Regions from separate parts of the Homo sapiens genome. Here regions 1 and 2 are each linked to region 3. Evidence: promoter capture Hi-C in 16 types of primary human blood cells and fetal thymus (Javierre and others, 2016). All regions are on one chromosome and are shown on one strand. Each heading gives the region's core, a stretch centred on a gene start or on the middle of the fragment in contact. The rest is flanking DNA. Distances are from core to core; before and after follow the strand shown.

Evidence for each region. The method cuts DNA at HindIII sites, captures the fragments that hold promoters and counts their contacts. A CHiCAGO score of 5 or more calls a contact.
Region 1: a fragment that was not itself captured here is called in contact with the fragment with the promoter of INHBB in region 3 in 1 of 17 cell types (neutrophils); the score reaches 8.7 in neutrophils.
Region 2: a fragment that was not itself captured here is called in contact with the fragment with the promoter of INHBB in region 3 in 1 of 17 cell types (neutrophils); the score reaches 6.0 in neutrophils.

Annotation. Positions count from the first base shown.
Region 1 is chr2:119,730,133-119,734,739 of GRCh38, forward strand. LOC101927764 (a long non-coding RNA gene) reads right to left here. Exons shown (of 4, transcript XR_007087215.1): 2 at 154-243. Among named protein-coding and RNA genes, the nearest start is that of PTPN4, 27 kb to the right of the region's middle. The HindIII fragment of the contact is 5,353 bases long and covers 156-4,607 here.
Region 2 is chr2:119,708,999-119,713,233 of GRCh38, forward strand. It overlaps a transcript of TMEM177 not described here. Among named protein-coding and RNA genes, the nearest start is that of TMEM177, 32 kb to the left of the region's middle. The HindIII fragment of the contact is 5,929 bases long and covers 1-4,235 here.
Region 3 is chr2:120,343,358-120,347,690 of GRCh38, forward strand. It overlaps INHBB (inhibin subunit beta B), which reads left to right and starts at 2,779. Exons shown (of 2, transcript NM_002193.4): 1 at 2,779-3,279. The coding sequence starts at 2,832. LOC105373989 (putative cuticle collagen 91) reads left to right here. Exons shown (of 3, transcript XM_047446882.1): 2 at 565-670; 3 at 1,530-2,636. The coding sequence ends at 2,557. RefSeq lists a cis regulatory region at 1-421. The HindIII fragment of the contact is 14,502 bases long and covers 2,179-4,333 here.

The DNA.
Region 1 (4,607 bases), core at 1,582-4,081, 610 kb before region 3:
GGGGAAGCACTTGCTGCCCCACCCCATGGAAGGGCAACAGGGGTGGTGGGAACACACAGCCCTCAGCCCACCCTCTTCAAGGAAACCCTCCCTGATGCCTCGATCTGAGGCTGGAAGTGCGCGAAGGGCTGACAAAGGAAGTTTTCCACTCACCAAGCTTGTCCTGGGCAGGGTCTCAGCACTGTGCGGATGTGCGGCTCCTTGCACTATTTTGTTCTGCCTTTGAGGCCTCTGCTGAAATGTCTAGATAACAGGAAAAGTCCCTTTTACCATCCAGTTATACTCCCTTGTTACGAGTGAAGTCCAAATGGGGCACAAGGGAGCAGGAAGAAGAGTTTATTTGGCTGGGCCTAGGGGTAATCAGGAAGGGGTGCAGCGAAGAGGAGCCGCCCCTCACTCCGTGCTGCACAGACAACATGCTTATGAATCTCCAGGGATCACGTTAAACAGCAGATTTGGCTTCAGTAGGTTTGGGGTGGGGCCTGAGATCCTGCATCTCCTACAGCTCTCAGGTGATGTCCTCAGATGCACTTTGAGCACAGAGGGGCTAGAGGGCTGTGTAGGAGGGGCTGCTAGGCCCTCGGGGGAGGTGGGAAGGAAGGGGCATTGCAGGCCAGGGAACAGCAAATGAAATGCAGAGGAAGACCTCAGGTCTGGTAACACTGCCTCCGCAGGTTCCAGTATGCGGTCAGAGGCTAAGAGGGCCACCCACACTCGTGGGAGGGGAATGGGGGAGCTGGCAGTAGATGAAGTTCCAGGGGGGTCCTGACTGTGCGTGAAAAAGCTGGAACAGGAAAAGCAAGCTGAGTGGGTTCCACTGGCGTCAGCTCTTGTAAAAACACTTGACGAGCTAGCCTACATAGTTGTATTTCACAAAGCCATGTGAACATTAATTACTCAGGGCATCTGATGGCTCGACCACAGAGTGCATGTGATGGACACATTCAAGTCCTGCTTTGCACAATGCCCAGCTGGCACTGGCAACAGCTGTAGTTCACATGACTGTCTCCTGATGTGCACAGGTGGTATGAGTCACCTGGAAAAGGTTTACTGCCTCAGTGTAACATCTGCAGAGGGTCAGCAAATCACATGGCCTAATCTGCCTGTGGGTGGCAAGCTAGCGGCCTCCTAAAGATGTCCACTTTCTAATGCCCAGAACTAGTGAATAGGTGACCTTACATGGCAAACAAAAGGGCCTTTCCAGATGTGACTCAGTTAAAGACTTTGAGATGGGGGGACTACTCGGGGTTGTTCAGGTGGGTCCAATCTAATCACACGAGTCCTTAAAAGTAGAGAACCAGCCAGGCGCGTGGCTCATGCCTGTAATCCCAGCACTTTGGGAGGCCAAGGCGGGTGGCTTGCTTGCTGGTCATGTAGACCAGCCTGGCCAACATGGTGAAACCCCATCTCTACTAAAATACACAAATTAGCTGGGCGTGGTGGCGGGTGCCTGTAGTCCCAGCTACTAGGGAGGCTGAGGCAGGAGAACTGCTTGAACCCAGGAGGCGGAGGTTGCAGTGAGCCCAGATGACGTGACTGCACTCCAGCCTGGGCGACAGAGCAAGACTCCGTTCCAAAACAAACAAAAAAAAGTAGAGAACCTTCCCCACTCATGGTCTGAGAGAGAGAGAGAGGTGAAAACTGAGGAAAGGTAGAGAGGTGGCAGCATGAGGAGGAGCCCTGCTGCTGGTTCTGGGATATCAGGGTTCATAGACAAGGATAAGAGAGAGGCCTCCAGGGGGGAGCTAAGGGATCCCCCCCAGTGACAGCCAACAAGGAAATGGGGACTTCAGTCCCACAACCTTGTCGAACTGAATTCTGCCAACTGACAAGAAAATGCATTCTCCCCTAGAATCTCCAGAAAAGAATGCATTCTTGTGTCCAAGTGAGGCTCATGTCTGACCTGCAGAACTGTATAATGATAAATTATGTTGTTTGAAACCGCTACATTTGCGGTAATTTGTTACAGCAGCAATAGAAAACGAATCCCCTGCCCAGAATGACTTCCTCCTTTCCTGTCGGACGAAGGCTCAGGCCTTCTGCTGAAAGCTCGCTCCCCTAAGTAGTCACACCCAATGCCGAATACTCCCCAGAAGCAGCTGCTATTTTCTGAGGACAATGAGTTGCTTGTAAGCCTGAGAACAGGACGAAAACCCACTTTGCAAGCAGCCCTGCGTGTGACGGGCATGCCCTCGGAGGGCAGGTTGGTTTTGCTATCTGCTTTCTGTCCTGCCTTTTTCCCCCCATGGGTCCTGTCTGGCTCTTTTGCTTTCTCACTTTGTGCAGAAAGCCATCTCAACTCTTCTCACAGGAGAATAGCTGTATGGACGTAGCAGGGGGAGTTACCACATGCCTACCTCCATGGTTTTCGAGAGGGGCCCCTGCCCAAATGTCTCAGTGGCCACCTTCATCAGACCATGGAGCAGTCAGAGCGGGAAGGGATTCTAGAGTTGGTCCAGTCCAACCATCTCATCTTACATGTGAAGGAGGAAAGGAAGAAAGGGAGAAAAATAAGAAAGCTGAGGTCAACCCTCCTACAGGGATGGGCCTGGCCAACAGGATCCCAAGGGATGACATAACATTGAAATTAAGAAACCAAGGAAAGTTGAGAACTAAAGAAAACAGAACCCAGTCAGCCAAGAGGCATCCTTGAGGGCCAACCAAGCCGTCAAACCTGGATGCCCCCGACAAGTCAGAAAGTCGGGTGCCTCAAGAGCCAAGCAGCCAAGAAATGGGGTCTGGAACTGGCACTTTGGTCCGCCTCTGTGCACTCACCCAGAAAGGGTGGAAGGGACCCTGGGACCAAGTGCCAAGGTCACACAACGGATGAATAGAGCTGCTGGACTTCAAACTGAACCATGCCATTTTGCCAAAGCAGTCATCACCTTCCGTGAATCATAAATGTTTGTTCAAAGCCACAAATGTATATACTCTTTGTATGTATACAGATTTTTTCTAAAGGTTAACATCTAAACAGATCAATTAAGGTCAGCCTTAATTTGTCTGAGCTTTTTGGTTAAAGTTTCCTGAGTAATTGAGCGAATTCAAGTTTCTGGCTTTCTCCTTTTTCTTTCTCCATTTAAAACATGATCTCATGAAATTTTTGTCCCAAGAAAGGCAGGATTACATTTTCTTTTAACAGTTTGAGTTGGTGTAGTGTATTCTTGGTTATCAGAATACTCATATAGCTTTAGGATTTTGAATTGGTAAATATTCATGATGTGTGAAAAATCATGATACATACTGTACAATCTCAGTGCCATAAAATTGGATGTTGTGCCTACACACGCACAGGACCTAGAAGAGCATGTCAAACTATAAACTGCCTGTGATTGTGAATGACTTTGTTCTTTGCTTCTTGCGTTTTTCAGTTTCCTATAATGCACATCTTAACTTTTAAAAAATAAAGGTTATTTTAAAAGCCAAAAAGAAAAAAAAAGATCTCTAACCTGTTGGCTGGTTAAAATTTGAGAAAATTAGACAAATGCTTACTTTTCCCTTTTTGGCTGACAAACAAAAGCCCAGTGAGGTATCCTCATCTGTAGAGATTTATGTCCTTTGTGGGGGGCCTGCTTCTCCCTCAAGATAGAGTAAAAAAAAAATCAGTGGTGTCACTTGGGCTCAAAAGGACAGAAGACTTGACACTGGAGTTTGAGGGTCCCAGAGGGGCTCAGCCACATAGACCTTCCTGCCCCACCCTTCCTACCACAGCCCTTTTTAGGAGCTGCCCCTACCCCCACAAGACTGTCCTTTGTTGCTGAACTATTAATTACTTAAATAGTCATTGATCACCTACCCTTTGCTAGGCCCAGGAGTCCTGTGAGATGGGCTCTTCCCTTAGTCCTCATTCCCACTGGCTATTGACACCATCCCCCGCTACACCCCCAATTCTACTATCCCCTTCCAGCCCGACACAGGACTTGCCTCTCTGAGCCTCTGACCTCTGCTTTCTCCCAGCATCTATTTTGGTTCTTCCTCCTTGGCTCAGTAAGTACATGGACAATCCCAGACCAGCCTTAAAGGCAGCCACCCCCCATGTTGGCCTCAGCCTCAGGGGCAGGGGAGGATCCTGGCCTACAAATCATGCACTCAGAGCTACAGTCCAGTCTCTGCAAGGACTGGCAGCAGACGGCGCTCACCCTGGGAGACCGAGTCCAGACACCTGTTCCCTGGCACAGCAGAAGCCCTCCACCCAGGCCCTGGAATGACAGCCCTGACTGATCTCCTGAAAGTGAGCTCTCCTGAAAGTGAGCTCAGGCTGTCCATCTTCCCTGAAGTCCAGTCCATCCCTTGCAAAGCCAGTTTCCGCTATCCCATCATGATTAATGCTGAAGCTCTCTTTCCAACCTTTGAAATGCCTTTTCATGCCATGCATTTAGAGAAAGGGCTCTGCCATCTGCAGAGGACCTGTGCGGAAATGTGGGGAAATGACCGTGTGTTTATTTATGTCATCCATTGTTAGCTAAGAATATCCAGGTGTTCTAATAATGGAGGTACCAAGAAAGGAAACAGTGTTGGATGGTGGGAAGGACGCTGGGCTCGGGGCAGGAAAACAAGTCCCACAGCCCAAGCTGAGTGACCTTCAGCAAGTTTTTGTTCTTTAGCCT
Region 2 (4,235 bases), core at 364-2,863, 640 kb before region 3:
TGTTTTACAATTTGCATAAATAATATGTCATCACTCATCTTATGGATAAAAAAACTGAGGCCCAGGGAAGCTAAGTAATTTGTCTAAGAATGCACAGCAAGTTGGCATCAGAACAGGCATCCACTTTGGGTGGATTTTCCACTGTACCATGCGCGTCTCTTTCCATTTTTCTGTGGCACCCACCACTGTGTTATGACATGCAGACAAGGGTCCTCACTAAGTGCCTGTGGCCTGACAGATTGTGGCTCTGAGGTCAGTGCAGTCGTGGCCATTTAGAGATGGTTACTGAAAGTTAATAATTGGTGGTTCCTGCCTAAAAATCCCACCACATACTACAATCCCTTTGAATTTTCAAGAAATATTTGGTCCATTAGGGATATCAGAAGCCTTTGGTGAGCCAGACATGGTGGCTCATGCCTGTAATCCCAACACTTTGGGAGGCCAAGAGGGAAGGATCACTTGAGCCCAGGAGTCCAAGACCAGCCTGGGCAACATAGTGAGATCCTATATCTACAAAAAATAAAATGAAATAAAAATATTAGGCTGGGCACAGTGGCTTACACCTGTAATCCTAGCTCTTTGGGAGGCCAAGATGGGCGGATCACGAGGTCAGGAGATTGAGACCATCCTGGCTGGCTAACATGGTGAAACCCCGTCTCTACTAAAATACAAAAAAATTAGCCGGGTGTAGTGGTGGGCGCCTGTAGTCCCAGCTACTTGGGAGGCTGAGGCAGGAGAATGGCATGAACCCAGGAGGTGGAGCTTGCAGTGAACCGAGATCGCGCCACTGCGCTCCAGTCTGGGCGACTGAGCAAGACTCCATCTCAAATAAATAAACAAATAAATAAATAAAAAGGAGTTTTTGGTCATGGTTGATAGAGTCATCCAGCTAATCTTAGGGAAAGAAGACCCAAAAGAAAGATGTCAAAATGTACGCACTTGTAAACCCATAGAGATGGAGAGCAGATTGGTGGCCGCCGGGGACTGGGGAAAGGGGAAATGGGGAGTAACTGGTTAATGGGTGCAGAGTTTTCTTTGGGGGTGATTAAAATGTTTTGGAACTAGATAGAAGTGGTGGTTGCACAACATTGTGGAGATACTAAATGCCACTGAATTTTGAGTTTAAGGTGATTAATTTTATTTGATGTGGATTTCACCCCAATAAAAATAAACTGGTTAGAATGTCCCAACTCAGCTCTGCTAGACCCAACCACACCCCAGCCTTGCCATCCCCTCAGACTGTGTAAGCAGAAGATGAGATTCCAGGGGGAAATTCCCCGGAGTTTATAGGAGCAGTGTATTGGGCAGTATTTTGGCTTTCCCCTCCTCAGTCAAGGGAGGCACTGCAAGAGAATTCCAGATCATGGATGCCCGTAAGAAGCACATTTGAGCATCCACGGGGCAGGATGGAGGAGTCTGCAGTGGAGCAGCTCACATGCCCAAGCCCTACCCGCGAGTTTCGTGGGGCAGCAGGTTTCCTGGCCTGTCTACCGGCATTGCCCCCAGGAGCCCACCCCAGACAGAGGGACTCCAGCTGTCAGAGGGAGAGGCTTGAGGGAGGGACCCAAAGTCATCCCCCTTGGGAGATGGCACTTGGACACCTGCCATCTTTTTTTTTTTTTTCTTTTTGAGACAGAGTCTTGCTGTGTCACCCAGGCTGGAGTGCAGTGGCACGATCTCGGCTCACTGCAAGCTCCACCTCCCGGGTTCACGCCTTTCTCCTGCCTCAGCCTCCTGAGTAGCTGGGACTACAGGCGCCCCCACCACCCCCAGCTATTTTTTTTTGTATTTTTAGTAGAGACGGTGTTTCACTGTATTAGCCAGGATGGTCTCGATCTCCTGACCTCATGATCTGCCCACTTCCGCCTCCCAAAGTGCTGGGGTTACAGGCGTGAGCCACCACGCCCGGCCCAACACCTGCCATCTTGAGAACAGCAGTAGAGAACCCACAAAACCTGCAAAGAAGAGGCTACGATCAAATGCCCAGTGAAGCGAAAAGATTATCTTCCCCATTGCACTCCCTCCTCTTCCCCAAGTCCCCAAGCACAGGAAGAGAGAGGCACCAAAAGAGGGAGGAGAGGGATGAAGACCGACCACCCCACCCTCACGATAGGTGCCTGGCTCGAGGCAGGCTGGTCTGAGGGAAGCGCAGGCAGTGGATATGATATCGGATTCAAGATTTGAGGCTTTGAAAAGAAAGTGGACTGGACCATAGGGGTTTTTTAATACCTAAAAACAACCAAAAAGCTATGGAATTATGAAAAGGAGATTTGGTATAAATCTCTAAAAAGATCTGGAGAAAAAATAGAATCATTTCATGTTTGTGCCCCACGGAGTTCAAACAGTTAAGTAAGTTGTTTAATCTCTATTTTCTCATCTGTAAAATAAGGATAATAATGCCTTCTTGCTGGGTATTGGGAATTTCAGTGCGGTAATATTCACAAAGCCCCTGGCACGTAGGCAGTCAATAAAACGAGGAAGAGAACTGCAGCCTTCAGAAAGCAGAAAACGCTTCAGGGCAGAAACACGCAAGTCCTGGGGGCTGACACTCCCAAACAAAGGCTCAGTTTTTCACATCGCCTGGGGCTTGAAATACTGATAGGCTTCTCCCTTCTGAGGCTGTCTTCCTTCCCTAACTAAAAGCCACCTTTGTCATTGCCCAAGAAGACCAAGTATGACCCAAGCCGCACTGAACACAGCAAGACCTGGGACACCCAAGGAAGCTCGACAAGGCGCTGGGGAAAAGCAAACTGAGGACTCTTCGTAGTTACCTGATGACTCCATGGAACAAAGGAGTCCAGGCCTTTCCAGAAGTCACCAGAACAGGCTCCCTGAGATGACAGTCCTGGGGTGGGAAAGGAGCAAGTTACGCCAGATGACCTGGAACACAAATACCCTGTTAGCCTGGCACCCACTGGCAGCTGTCACTGGACACCTGATGGGAGAGTTTATCCCAAAAGTTATGGGCTGGCAGCTCCGGCAGCAGAATTTCCACGTGCATGGTCCTGAGGACAGAGACAGGTCCAGAGCCTGGGGGTTGAGAACAAGAAAAAGGTGGAGCAGCCACGCTCCAGGGCAGCAAAGAGACCTGGATTTGTCTGAGGCGTTGGCGTTAAGGCACCCCTTGATGCGGCTTCCTAGATATGTGGTATGGCCTGGGGCTGGTCTTTGGGCCCGTTTCTTTATCTATAAAAATGGAGATAGCACCTCACTTTGATAGGTGGATTGTTGCTGTCAATTCTGTACTCTCTCCTGCCGCGTGGCTCTGCGGTGCCCAACAGCAGCAGAGTATATTTCACCCCCATGGACACTGAGGCTTGGTGATTGTGATGGGTTGCCTTGTGTCCCCTCTAATTCCTATGTTGAAGCCTGAACCCCCAGTATCTCAAAATGGGGCCGTATTTGGAGGTAAGGCCTTTAAGGATGATTAAGTTAAAATGAGGTCATTTGAGTGGACGCTAATCCAGTGTGACTGGTGTCCTTATAAGAGGAAATTTGGATACACAGAGACACCAGGGATGCATGGGCTCAGAGAAAAGGCCACATGAAGGCACGGCAAGAAGGGGGCATCCACAAGCCAAGAAGAGGGGCCTCAGGAGAAACCAGCCCTGCCAACACCTTGACCTTCGACTTCCAACCTCCACAGCTGTGAGAAAGAAATGTCTATCGCTTAAGCCACCCAGTCCATGGTACTTCGTTAGGGCAGCCTGACACTGAAAGTTGGTCTGCTTTTTATTACCAGCATGCATGCACCAGCAATTCTAAACAATGCCAGTGACAAAATGTTCCTTCCTGCAGCCTGGACTGCTCCCACCACTCCCATCCTTAGAACCTCACTGACTGGCATGACTCTTGTTAAGACTGTAATAAAAAGATTATTATTGGTATCAGCAAGAAAGCAAGAGTTAGCTTGTTGAGCAGGGGGTAAATCTCATAAGGATATGTACATTAAGTCAGCATTTACATAGTCTAAGAACACACAAAACAATGCTATATATTATTTAGGTACATACACACATAAAGCATGAAGATTTGCCTAGAAATATTCGACACCAAACTTATGATAATGGTTTTCTTTTTTTTTTTTTGAGATGGAGTTTTGCTCTTGTTGCCCAGGCTGGAGTGCAATGGCGCAATCTTGGCTCACTGCAACCTCTGCCTCCCGGGTTCAAGTGATTCTCCTGCCTCAGCCTCCTGAGTAGCTGGGATTACAGGCATGTGCCACCAAGCCTGAC
Region 3 (4,333 bases), core at 1,529-4,028:
GGCAGGGCAAGGGCAACCTGATGGGAGAGCAGAGACTCTGGCCCTGGTGGAGATTCTAAGGAGGCAGAAGGGCTGCCATCTCGGGGATCCTCCTGGATCCCTGCTTCTGACTTCGGTCGGCAAACTCACACCCGCCCTAGTTTTGCCCGCCAGCTTCGGGTCGGTTCCTCCGATTGGGAGGGAGGGGGCGCTCGGCTTCCAGACTTGCAGGCCGCCGCGGGCCTGCGGTCCCGGCCGAGCTCCACGGTGGCAGGGCTGGCCCGAGAGACTGGCGGTGGGAGGCGGGGGCAGGAGGCCACGCTCCGCCTCCGACGTCCCCGATTCCCCAATATCCTGGGAAAGCCAGGATGAACTCCCATCGTGCTTCTGCCTTGAGTCTAGCCCGTTGCGAGGGAACGGGGTACGGCTCCGTGTCCTGTGGGCATTGTCATGCGGCCCCAGACCCGGGTGGGGGCGTGAAGAAGGACAGAGGAGCGCATTGCACTTGGGGCCCCGGACGGGTCTGAAAGTCAAGTTTCCACTGACAGTGTTCCTTGTCCGGTGGCCTGAGAACGGTGACCCTAGAACCATCCTTTATCGGGTTGTGTGAAGAGCCTGGCCCAGTTGCCTCGCTGGGCCTCCCACCCAGCCCCTGTGATACAGGTGTTACTGTCCCTTCACAGAAGAAGAGGTAGGCGATAGGAAAGGTGAGGACTCTATCCAAGGTCACTCCTGCAAAGCTGGCAGTGGCTGAGCCCGAGTGGAACCCGGGTCTGAGTGAAGCCAAAGTTTGTCTGCTGGCGAAAGTGGGAATTCCCTGGGGGTGGGGGTGGGGGTGGGGTACTGTAGACCCTGCCAGCCCCTCAAGCCCTGAGGCTCAGTGGCCTCCGGGCCGCGCGCCTGGGATCCCGCACAATCGGGGCGTTCCTCCTGGCCCAGCAGACGCAGCCGCTGGCCAGGCCTCCAGTGGCTACTGCCTTCCCGCCCTCCAGCTCGCAGGGTCCACGCCTCGGCCAGTGCGACGGCGGCCCGGGGAGCTGGGTGAGGGCACTGCAGCCCCAGAGCGGCAGCCGCCGGCGGAGCCTGCCTCTGGCATCCCAGGCCGCGCCGCACCCCGCTCGCCTCGCCAGGCTCGGCCGCGAGGGAGCGCCCCGGGAGGGCCGGGGGCGGCCACGGCGGCGGGAGTCGCCTCTGCTGGTTGGGGAGGGCGGCAGCTGGGACAGAGGCAGGGCCTGCGCGGCGGCGGGGAGGCGGGAGTGGGCCGGGAGGAGCGCCTGGGTCCAGCGCCTGGAACCCGTCGGTGCCGCCGGCCGCCCAGCTGGGCAAGGGTCCGGGGCGCCCACGTGGTGGGAAAGTTTCGAGGTAGCAAAAGTAGCCCGGCATTGCGGGGGGTGGGAGGGGAGAGGAGGGGAGGGGAGAGGGCCGGCTCGCCCCTCCTTCTCGGGAAGGCAGAAAGGAAAAAAGCGGTGGGAAGCAGGGGTGAGCGCGGGGAGCGGGCAGCCCCAACCTGAACAGATTCCGCTTTCTCCTCCTCCCCCCACCCCGGGAAGCTCGAGCGGGGAGGTACGGACCGTCTCCTCTCGCACGGGCAGGACGACACCCTCCCTCCCCCCCTTTTTTCTGCCAACGTCTATCTCAACGCGCGCGCACATACGGAGATTGTGCGGCTTTTTTCCCCCTTGGGAGAAAAAACGGGGAGAGTAAAAGAAGAGAGACCAAAGAGAAGAACTCCTCCTCGGCGAGCTCCGCACTCCGTGCCGCGGCCCGGCGCGGGGACGCCGCCGCCGCCCGCCCGCTCTCTCCCGGCCCTGCGGCGGGTGCCAGTACGAGCGCGAGCGAGGGCACTGCACCCGGGGACGCTGCGAGACTTTTCGGCGCTCGAGCCGACCTCGCCGCCGCCGCGGCAGGCAGAAGAGACAGGAGCGAGAAGGGCCCTGCCTCCCCCTCGCCTTCCTCGCCCGGCGCCCCGCGCCCGGCCGGGCCGCGCAGGCAGGCGGAGGGAAGGAGGGAGGCTGCGAGGAGGCGGGCGGAGCAGAGGCCCCGGCGAAGCGCGCTGCGGCCGCCCGCCCGTGGATGCGGCGCCCAGGGATCCTGGAGACAACTTTGCCGTGTGACGCGCCGGGAGGACTGCAGGGCCCGCGGCCGAGGGCTCGGCGCCGCCTGTGAGCGGGCCCGCGCGGCCGGCTCTCCCGGGCACCAAGCTTGCTCCGCGCCACTGCCCGCCGGCCCGCGGCGAGGACGACCTGCCCGTCTCCGCCGCCGGCGGCCCTTCCTGGCGCGAGGCAGTGAGGGCGAGGCGCTCAGGTGCGAGCGCGGGGCCCCGCCGCAGCGCCCGCCGCAGCGCCGCGCCAAGCCGCGCCCGGCTCCGCTCCGGGGGGCTCCAGCGCCTTCGCTTCCGTCTCAGCCAAGTTGCGTGGACCCGCTCTTTCGCCACCTTCCCCAGCCGCCGGCCGAACCGCCGCTCCCACTGACGCTGCTTTCGCTTCACCCGAACCGGGGCTGCGGGGCCCCCGACGCGGAAAGGATGGGGAGAAGGCTGCAGATGCCGAGGCGCCCCGAGACGCCCGTGCGGCAGTGACCCGCGACCTCCGCCCCGCCCGGCGCGCCCCTCGGGCCCCCGGGGCCCTCGGCGCCCCTTCCCTGCCGCGCGGGAACCCCCGAGGCCCGGCCGGCCCCCTCCCCCTGCGAGCCGGCGGCAGCCCTCCCGGCGGGCGGGCGGGCGGAGGCCCGGGCGGGCGCGGGCGCGGGCGGGGGCGGGGCGGGGCGGCGCGCCCGGAGCCCGGAGCCCGGCCCTGCGCTCGGCTCGACTCGGCTCGCCTCGCGGCGGGCGCCCTCGTCGCCAGCGGCGCACCATGGACGGGCTGCCCGGTCGGGCGCTGGGGGCCGCCTGCCTTCTGCTGCTGGCGGCCGGCTGGCTGGGGCCTGAGGCCTGGGGCTCACCCACGCCCCCGCCGACGCCTGCCGCGCCGCCGCCACCCCCGCCACCCGGATCCCCGGGTGGCTCGCAGGACACCTGTACGTCGTGCGGCGGCTTCCGGCGGCCAGAGGAGCTCGGCCGAGTGGACGGCGACTTCCTGGAGGCGGTGAAGCGGCACATCTTGAGCCGCCTGCAGATGCGGGGCCGGCCCAACATCACGCACGCCGTGCCTAAGGCCGCCATGGTCACGGCCCTGCGCAAGCTGCACGCGGGCAAGGTGCGCGAGGACGGCCGCGTGGAGATCCCGCACCTCGACGGCCACGCCAGCCCGGGCGCCGACGGCCAGGAGCGCGTTTCCGAAATCATCAGCTTCGCCGAGACAGGTGGGTCCGGCCCTCCGGCTGTCTGCCGCGGTCCCCGCTCGCTCCCGCTCTCCCTCTCCTTGCTAGCTCCGGCTGCCACCGCCGCCACCGCAGCCCGCGCGCCCTGGGGCAGCCTGGACTCCCGGCAGAGCTCCTTCGGCCGTGGCCCTGCGCGCTCCGCCCGGGTTGCAGTCCTCTTCCCCCAGGCCGCAGACCCTTGCCTGCTGCCTCAACCCCCCGCCGCCGATCGCCTGGCCCTCCACCCCTGCTCTCCGGAATCGGGCCCCAGCGCCTCTGGGCGCGCGTCCCCCTCCCGGCAGATGCGCGCGGCCCTGGCTCTGCGGGCACTTGCTTGGTGATTGCTTAATGTTTTTGTTTCCCACGATCGGAGTGTAGGCTTAGCAGTGTGGATGGAGATGTGTGTGCTTGTTGATATACGTGGGCCGGAGGAGAGAGAGAGTGTGTGTGTATCTGTGTGTGTGTCTGTGTGTGTGTGTGCCTGCGTGAGAGGCCCCTGGGGCCGCTTCCATCACCGGCGGCGTGGGCTTGCCAGGATTGCTGAAGCCTCGCTGGGGAGAGCTAGGCAACCTCTCTTCCGATTGTGTGGGCACCGGAATCGGGCGGAAGGCAGGCTTCTCAACAGGTCCATCATTTACACAGAGAAAGCCGCGGTTCGGGGACAGCCCCGTGCCTCTCGGCTTGCCTGGCAGCTGCAGCAGACCCCTCGCCCGAGAGGCAGAGTCGTAGTTAACAAAGGGTATGGCTCCTTTCTGGAATCCGCCCCCCCCCCCGGCCCCAGATTGCAAATCTCTAACACTGTCTAAATATAAAAATCAGGGAGAGAAAAATCTTTCGGAACTTTAAAAGAAGGAGAAAAATGTGCCCGCGCCAAAATGCTGCAAGTGCTTTCGACTCCGCTGTCCTTTTCAGGACTTGAATGAGCCAGGCTGGCTTTTGTGCCTGGAGCTCGGCCCCATTTGTGCCGAGGGGACTGCGGAGAAGGTCGCAGAGGGGGAAGCCCCGGTGCAGTTAGGGCGGGGGCAAGCGGGGAGCCTCGGTGGGGGGAGCGGTTGTG